2 separate regions of the Homo sapiens genome follow, and region 1 is linked to region 2. Evidence: promoter capture Hi-C in human tissues and cell types (Jung and others, 2019). All regions are on one chromosome and are shown on one strand. Each heading gives the region's core, a stretch centred on a gene start or on the middle of the fragment in contact. The rest is flanking DNA. Distances are from core to core; before and after follow the strand shown.

What was found. Contacts are between HindIII fragments. The study calls those that stand out against the background at their distance.
Region 1: a fragment that was not itself captured here is called in contact with the fragment with the promoter of HSD3B2 in region 2 in 2 of the 25 tissues and cell types used here (neural progenitor cells and psoas muscle).

Annotation. Positions count from the first base shown.
Region 1 is chr1:119,500,051-119,504,421 of GRCh38, reverse strand. No RefSeq gene overlaps it. Among named protein-coding and RNA genes, the nearest start is that of HSD3B1, 5.0 kb to the left of the region's middle. RefSeq lists a promoter at 1-93. The HindIII fragment of the contact is 8,718 bases long and covers 1-4,371 here.
Region 2 is chr1:119,411,935-119,416,804 of GRCh38, reverse strand. It overlaps HSD3B2 (hydroxy-delta-5-steroid dehydrogenase, 3 beta- and steroid delta-isomerase 2), which reads right to left and starts at 1,655. Exons shown (of 4, transcript NM_000198.4): 1 at 1,603-1,655; 2 at 1,244-1,474. The coding sequence starts at 1,385. RefSeq lists an enhancer at 689-1,888 and promoters at 1,461-2,178, 1,602-2,728. The HindIII fragment of the contact is 6,350 bases long and covers 602-4,870 here.

The sequences.
Region 1 (4,371 bases), core at 715-3,214, 87 kb before region 2:
GGTGCGATGTTGGCTCACTTCAACCTCCACTTCCGGGTTCAAGTGATTCTCCTGCCTCAGCCTCCAGGCACCTGCCACCATGCCTGGGTAATTTTTGTATTTTTAGTAGAGGCGGGATTTCATCATGTTGGCCAGGCTGATCTAAACTTTTGACCCCAAATGATCCACCCACCTTGGCCTCCCAAAGTGCTGGGATTACAGGTGTGAGTCACCACACCTGGCCAGCTTAATGTTCTTTTGTGGTTCATCTATGTTGTAGCACGTATCAATATTTTACTCCTTTTAGGTGCCAAACCCTATTAAATTGTATGGATGGCTCCCATTTGTTTATTCATTCATCAATTGATCGATATTTGATGTGTTTCCACTTTATGGACTATTATGGATAAAGCTGCTATGAATATTCACATTCATGTGTTGTGTGGACATAGGTTTCTGTTTCTTTGGGGTAGACAGCTAGGAGTGAAAGTGCTAGATCATAAGGTAAATGTATATTTAACATTTTAAGGAACTGGCAATCTGTTTTCCAATGTGGCTGCATGTCCCATCAACACTGCAAGAGTAGTTCAATTTTTCACATCATTGTTTTTCACTTCTTTCAATTGTTTATTTATTTATTTATTTTATTATTATTATACTTTAAGTTTTAGGGTACATGTACACAATGTGCAGGTACATGTGACATGTTGATGTGCTACACCCATTAATTCGGCATTTAGCATTAGGTATATCTCCAAATGCTATCCCTCCCCCCTCCCCCCACCCCACAACTGTCCCCGGAGTGTGATGTTCCCCTTCCTGTGTCCATGTGTTCTCATTGTTCAATTCCCACCTATGAGTGAGAACATGCGGTGTTTGGTTTTTTGTCCTTGCAATAGTTTGCTGAGAATGATGGTTTCCAGCTTCATCCACGTCCCTACAAAGGACATGAACTCATCATTTTTTATGGCTGCATAGTATTCCATGGCGTATATGTGCCACATTTTCTTAATCCAGTCTATCATTGTTGGACATTTGGGTTGGTTCCAAGTCTTTGCTATTGTGAATAGTGCCACAATAAACATACGTGTGCATGTGTCTTTATAGCAGCATGATTTATAATCCTTTGGGTATATACCCAGTAATGGGATGGCTGGGTCAAATGGTATTTCCAGTTCTAGATCCCTGAGAAATCACCACACTGACTTCCACAATGGTTGAACTAGTTTACAGTCCCACCAACATTGTAAAAGTGTTCCTATTTCTCCACATCCTCTCCAGCACTTGTTGTTTCCTGACTTTTTAATGATTGCCATTCTAACTGGTGTGAGATGGTGTCTCATTGTGCTTTTGATTTGCATTTCTCTGATGGCCAGTGATGATGAGCATTTTTTCATGTGTTTTTTGGCTGCATAAATGTCTTCTTTTGAGAAGTGTCTGTTCATATCCTTTGCCCACTTTTTTATGGGGTTGTTTGTTTTTTTCTTGTAAATTTGTCTGGGTTCATTGTAGATTCTGGATATTAGCCCTTTGTCAGATGAGGAGGTTGTGAAAATTTTCTCCCATTTTGTAGGTTGCCTGTTCACTCTGATGGTAGTTTCTCCTGCTGTGCAGAAGCTCTTTAGTTTCAGTAGATCCCATTTGTCAATTCTGGCTTTTGTTGCCATTGCTTTTGGTGTTTTAGACATGAAGTCCTTGCCCATGCCTATGTCCTGAATGGTATTGCCTAAGTTTTCTTCTAGGGTTTTTATGGTTTTAGGTCTAACATGTAAGTCTTTAACCCATCTTGAATTAATTTTCATATAAGGTGTAAGGAAGGAATCCAGTTTCAGCTTTCTACACATGGCTAGCCAGTTTTCCCAGCACCATTTATTAAATAGGGAATCCTTTCCCCATTTCTTGTTTTTGTCAGGTTTGTCAAAGATCAGATAGTTGTAGATATGTGGCATTATTTCTGAGGTCTCTGTTCTGTTCCATTGATCTATATCTCTGTTTTGGTACCAGTACCATGCTGTTTTGGTTACTGTAGCCTTTTAGTATAGTTTGAAGTCAGGTAGCGTGTTGCCTCTGGCTGTGTTCTTTTGGCTTAGGATTGACTTGGCGATGCAGGCTCTTTTTTGTTTCCATATGAACTTTAAAGTAGTTTTTTCCAATTCTGTGAAAAAAGTCATTGGTAGCTTGATGGGGATGGCATTGAATCTATAAATTACCTTGGGCAGTATGGCCATTTTCAAGACATTGATTCTTCCTACCCATGAGCATGGAATGTTATTCCATTTGTTTGTATCCTCTTTTATTTCATTGAGCAGTGGTTTGTAGTTCTCCTTGAGGAGGTCCTTCACATCCCTTGTAAGTTGGATTCCTAGGTATTTTATTCTCTTTGAAGAAATTGTGAATGGGAGTTCACTCATGATTTGGCTCTCTGTTTGTCTGTTATTGGTGTTTAGGAATGCTTGTGATTTTTGCACATTGATTTTGTATCCTGAGACTTTGCTGAAGTTGCTTATCAGCTTAAGGAGATTTTGGGCTGAGACGATGGGGTTTTCTAGATATACAATCATGTCACCTGCAAAAAGGGACAATTAGACCTCCTCTTTTTCTATTTGAATACCCTTTATTTCCTTCTCCTGCTTAATTGCCCTGGCCAGCACTTCCAACACTATGTTGAATAGGAGTGGTGAGAGAGGGCATCCCTGTCCTGTGCCAGTTTTCAAAGGGAATGCTTCCAGTTTTTGCCCATTCAGTATGATATTGGCTGTGGGTTTGTCATAGATAACTCTTATTATTTTGAGATACGTCCCATCAATACCTAATTTATTGAGAGTTTTTAGCATGAAGAGTTGTTGAATTTTGTCAAAGGCCTTTTCTGCATCTATTGAGATAATCATGTGGTTTTTGTCTTTGGTTCTTTTTATACGTTGGATTACATTTATTGATTTAGCGTATGTTGAACCAGCCTTGCATCTCAGGGATGAAGCCCACTTGATCATGGTGGGTAAGCTTTTTTATGTGCTGCTGGATTCGGTTTGCCAGTATTTTATTGAGGATTTTTGCATTAATGTTCATCAAGGATATTGGTCTAAAATTCTCTTTTTTGGTTGTGTCTCTTCCCAGCTTTGGTATCAGGATGATGCTGACCTCATAAAATGAGTTAGGGAGGATTCCCTCTTTTTCTATTGATTGGAATAGTTTCAGAAGGAATGGTACCAGCTCCTCCTTCTACCTCTGGTAGAATTTGGCTGTGAATCCATCTGGTCCTGGACTCCTTTTGGTTGGTAAACTATTGATTATTGCCACAATTTCAGAGCCTGTTATTGGTCTATTCAGAGATTCAACTTCTTCCTGGTTTAGTCTTGGGAGGGTGTATGTGTTGAGGAATTTATCCATTTCTTCTAGATTTTCTAGTTTATTTGTGTAGAGGTGTTTATAGTATTCTCTGATGGTAGTTTGTATTTCTGTGGGATTGGTGGTGGTATCCCCTTTATCATTTTTTATTGCGTCTATTTGATTCTTCTCTCTTTTCTTCTTTATTAGTCTTGCTAGTGGTCTATCAATTTTGTTGATCTTTTCAAAAAACCAGCTCCTGGATTCATTAATTTTTTGAAGGGTTTTTTGATGTCTCTATGTCCTTCAGTTCTGCTCTGATTTTAGTTATTTCTTGCCTTCTGCTAGCTTTTGAATGTGTTTGCTCTTGCTTTTCTGGTTCTTTTAATTGTGATGTTAGGGTGTCAATTTCGGATCTTTCCTGCTTTCTCTTGTGGGCATTTAGTGCTATAAATTTCCCTCTACACGCTGCTTTGAATGTGTCCCAGAGATTCTGATATGTTGTGTCTTTGTTCTCGTTGGTTTCAAAAAACATCTTTATTTCTGCCTTCATTTTGTTATGTACCTAGTAGTCCTTCAGGAGCAGATTGTTCAGTTTCCATGTAGTTGAGCGGTTTTGAGTGAGTTTCTTAATCCTGAGTTCTAGTTTGATTGCACTGTGGTCTGAGAGACTATTTGTTATAATTTCTGTTGTTTCACATTTGCTGAGGAGTGCTTTACTTCCAAGTATGTGGTCAATTTTGGAATAGGTGTGGTGCGGTGCTGAAAAAAATGTATATTCTGTTGATTTGGGGTGGAGAGTTCTGTAGATGTCTATTAGGTCCACTTGATGCAGAGCTGAGTTCAATTCCTGGGTATCCTTGTTAAGTTTCTGTCTCGTTGATCTGTCTAATGTTGACAGTGTGGTGTTAAAGTCTCCCATTATTATTGTGTGGGAGTCTAAGTCTCTTTGTAGGTCACTAAGGACTTGCTTTATGAATCTGGGTGTTCCTGTATTGGGTCCATATTTATTTAGGATAGTTCTTCTTGTCTAATTGATCCCTTTACCATTATGTAATGTCCTTCTTT
Region 2 (4,870 bases), core at 406-2,905:
AATATCTGTTCACTATTAGAACAGAGAGTGGAGGAAATTGGACATTTAAAGAGGTCAGAGAAGAGTGAAAGAAGAGGAGAGTGTCAAGGGGAGCTTCTGTGTGAACAGGGCAGGACCTTCTAGGCAGCCAGAACCTGCATGAAGAAGATACATAGTTCCCCCAGTCCCCTGGGTTGGGAGGAAAACATGGAATTGGTTTGGGGCACACAGAGAGGCAAAGGGAGAGACTGAAGACCCACCAAGGATTAGCCCGGGGGTCAAGTGATGAAGCTTCTGGAATGAAGCTCTGGTCTGAGCTCTGCTACACATTAATCAGCTGTTCTTGGCAAGTAACTTTATGTTTCTGGAACTTGATGGGTTCATTGTCCAGTTGGAGGTGACCCCTTTTCTACCTTCCTCACAGGGTTATTTGCACAAAGAGTTACTACAGCAAATTCTGCAGTCAATTTATTTGGAGTATTGAACAACAGATACAAATGGTTTTTTTTTAAAAAGGCTATATATGAGAAATATAAATGAGGCATGTTGGCCTCATACTGCCTTTTACTCTGTCTCTGCTCTGTGCCGTGCACTTGTGCATGCTCTCTTTCTCTCTTTCTCTCTCTCTCACTGATGATCTCTCTCACTTTCACTCTCTCTCTCTTGCTGATGCTCTCCCTCACACTATCTTTCTCATTCATTCTCTGTCTTTCTCATTCTCTGTCTCTGACCTTCTTTCCCCCTCATTTTCTTTCTCTGTCTGACACACACACACAATTACACACACATCCGTACCTTCACTTCCTTTTATTTTGCCCTCACTAAAGATACTAAGGAAGCTATAAAATGAAATGAAGCCTGGGGCAGTCTAGACAGGCAGGACCCACTGGTGAGGTCTCCAGGTAAATGATGTCCTTTGTGAATGTCGCACAGCAATCGCCAAGACAAAAAGCTTCAGAACATAAGAGTTGTAGACAAGAAGGAGAACTCATGTGTGACTCTCTAGAAGAGAAGAAAAGGGGCCTTGAGGCTGACATGGCTGCCTCTCAAGTTCTGCGTCAGGGCCAGAATCCAGTCTCTGGACACCCCATCCAGTATCTTTCACACTATACCATTTTATTCTATTTCCTTTCTGATGACTTTAGATGTGTGACTGGCTTTCATTTGGCTACAACTTTCCTTAACTTGCTAGACAAGGTCAACCTCCCCACACCCATGCAGAGTTTAAGATGGAGCCACAGACCCATGACTCAAGTTTACTTACTAGAAAATTCCTCTCTCAATTCTGGTCTGAAGGCCTTGTCCAAGGCCCTGATCTCCTTCAGTTCCTTCTCTTCCACCAACAGGCGGACGATCCTCTGACCCAGAAGCCCTCCTGCTCCTGTCACAAGGCAGCTCCAGCCCATCGTGGCCAATCCAAAGTAGCAGGAAACACTTGCCAGGAAACAGAAGATGCTGGAGAGCAGATCTGATTCTAGCGTGACCCAGAAGAGGGCTAAAAACAAGAGGTAAAATGGTTATACACTCAGCAGATGCCTTATTTTCCTCCACCCCATTTTTTACAAAAATTCCATGACCCCACAACTGCCAGGAGTAGTTGAAAGAAAAGGAGAAAGCTCTAACCGTAACTTAGATTGTTAAAAGCTGGACAGAGGAGTCCAAGTCCTTACTGCCTCATCCCTGGAGGAAGGACTGGAGCTTTATGCTCTGTGGCTTGTGTCTCAGCCCTTATTACCTTGAACTCCTGCCACATACTCATTGCTCCCTCCTCCTCCAGAATCCCTTTTCTCAGAATAATAGTGACCTTTAGGTTATATCTCTAATTCTTCCCAGGAACAGGAAGAGAAATCCAATCTTAAGGCCACAGTGTGATAAAGAGTCTTGGCTTTAGCCTTAACAGAACACTGGTCAGTTGATACCAGCTGTCTGGGATCTGCAATCTGTGAACTTAAACCAAACTGGGAGAAGTCTCCAAGTGCAATGTAAATGTTGTCCTTGTACAGTAAATCCACCTGGAGGGAGATCTATTTTAGCCCATTATCAACTCTCTGAGAGTGTCATTTGAAACGTCACTGCTGTCTTGCAAAGTTTAGAAATTTTCAATGGTGACAGCTCCAATCACTAAGTTTTATGTGAGGTGACTTTCTTTTCCACCCAATATATCCAAAACCTCAATTGCAATTTTTCCCTGGAGAGCTCTGGGTTCCTAATGGAAGAACCTCATTGAAGGAAAGGTATCTAGTGATAACGAATTAATCATATGGCCTGTAATACAAGTGTGGGGATTTGTAGTTGTATGCCCAATGACTCTAATCATAGATATTTGCACTCATCTTACATTTTTGGCTGCAAAACCATTCTTAGCAAATTGTTGAACTGAAGATGCTATGAATGCTTCTGAAACCTATGCCCCAGTCTGCCCAAACATCACTGCCATAAACTCCCCAAGACACTTTTCTCTACTTAAAAAAATAGAGATGTAGTTTTTTTAAGTAGATGTAATCTGGGCATTACAAGGCCCAGATCTTAAGCGTTCAGTGTACACTTAAGTGTTCATTGTCAATGAACCTTGACAGTTATATATGTCCATGTAAGTACCAACGAAAAGAAGACCACCATTTCCTTCACTCCAGAAAGTTTTATCTGCCTGTTCTTAGTCAATTGCCTGCCCTCCCCCGAGTTTACCTGGTAGGCAATTACTTTCTGATTTTTATTCCCACAGAGTTCCCACTTTATTCCTATATTTTCCTAATTTTTTCTTCTAAGATCTTTGTGATTCTGGATATATATTTAAATATAAAATCATTCTGAACTGAAGTTTTGTTCATGGAGTACAGAAAAATTGACCACTGATTGTCTCTATTGTTTGTTCATTTTTCTATTTCATGATTTTCATTATTTTTATTATTGGCTTAAATGTTTATTAACTTTGGGTTTATTTTACTCTTCTTTTTCAGGGTTCTTATGATAAAAGCATAGATAATTGACTTTACTTCTTTGCTCATTTCCACCATAGGCATTTAAAGTTGTAAATTTCTCTCTAAACACTATGTTAGCTGTATCCAACATTTTGATGCATTGGGTTATCATTATTCAGTTACTGACGTTTTGAATTTTTTCTTGTGATGTCTTCTTTGACCCAAGTGTTATTGAGAAGCATGTTGCATGTTTTCTAAAACTGGGGATTTTCTTATTGTTATGTATTTCTAATTAAATATTATTGTGGCCAGAGCATATACTCTGTATGATTTTGATTCTTTGATATATATTGAGATTTGTTTTATGGTCCAGCCTATGGTCTATGTTGGTGGAAATGCCATAAGCACTTCAAAAGAATGCTTTCTGAAGTTGTTGGAAGTCATACTCTACAAATGATTTAGCTTGACTCCCCATTCTGGGTCTTGCCTTTCTCCTGTGTGTAGACATTCACCTTCTACTTGGAACCTGGCTGCCAATGCTTCAAACCCACTTGCCTAGGAAAGGTTGGTCCTGTGATGCAAGGTGTAGCAGCTTGTCTTCTGAAGCTCTCAGAACTAGACACGGGCCCTGGGACTTGTGGAGCACTATCTGAAACCACCCAGGTGCATCACACACCTTTGCCTGCCATATCAGATGCTGGAGTGCACCTTACAGACCCCCATGACCTTCAGGGTGGGACCAAATGTTCCTTCAGCTGTTGAGAGTTCTGGAGGCTCTTAGAGTTCAGGCAGTGTCTCTTGGAGTCTGAGTGGAAGCAATAACTGTAAGCTTTCTTTAAACCAATAAATATTTTGCTTTCTTTAGGAAAGTGAGCAGTAGGACAAAGAGCAAGGCTGCTGGGGGCCACACTACCAACTTTCTGTTTTTAAACAGCTTTACTGAAGTATAATTGACATATTATAACATTCCCATTTTAAGTGTACAGTTCAATTATTTTTAGTAAAATTTTAGACTTGTGTAACCATCATCACAATCCTGTTTTGGAACATTTCTATCTTTCCTAAGAAATCCCTCATGCTTATCATTTGCCACCTCTTATTCCCAGCCCCCAGCTCTAGGCAGCCCTCATGACTTCCTGACTCCACAGATTTGATTTTCTGGACACCATATAACTAGAATCATGTAATATGTGGTCTTTTGCATCTGCCTTCTTTCACATAGCTTAATATACTTATGTGTTTCATCTATGTTGTAGCATGTATCAATATTTCATTCCTTTTAGGTGGCAAATTCTATTAAATTGTATGGATGGCTGCCATTAGTTTATTCATTTATCAGTTGATAGATATTTATGTGTTTCCCCCCCTTTTTTTTTTTTTTTTTTGAGATGGAGTGTCACTCTGTCACCAGGCTGGAGTGCAGTAGCATAATCCCGGCTCACTGCAACCTCCGCCTCCTGGGTTCAAGCGATTCTCCTGCCTCAGCCTCCCGAGTAGCTGGGACTACAGGTGCACGCCACCATGCCCAGCTAATTTTTGTATTTTTAGGAGAGACAAGGTCTCACCATGTTGGCCAGGATGGTCTCGATCTCTTGACCTCATGATCTGCCCACCTTGGCCTCCCAAAGTGCATTATGGATAAAGCTGCTATGAATATTCACATTCATGTATTGTGTAGACATACATTTTTATTTCTTTAGGGTTGACAGGAGTAAAACTGCTAGGTCATATGGTAAGTGCATCTTTAATGTTTTAAGGAACAGCCAAAATGTTTTTGAACATGGCTGCCTGTCCCATCAACAATGCATGAGTATTTCAATTTTCCCACATCATTGTGCTTTCACTTCCTCCAATTGTTATTGTTTTATTTTTAGTATAGCATTCTAGTGGGTAAGAAGTGGTGTCACATTGTAGTTTTGATTTGTATTTCCCTGCTGACTGATGATGCTCACCATCTTTTCTGTACTTTATTG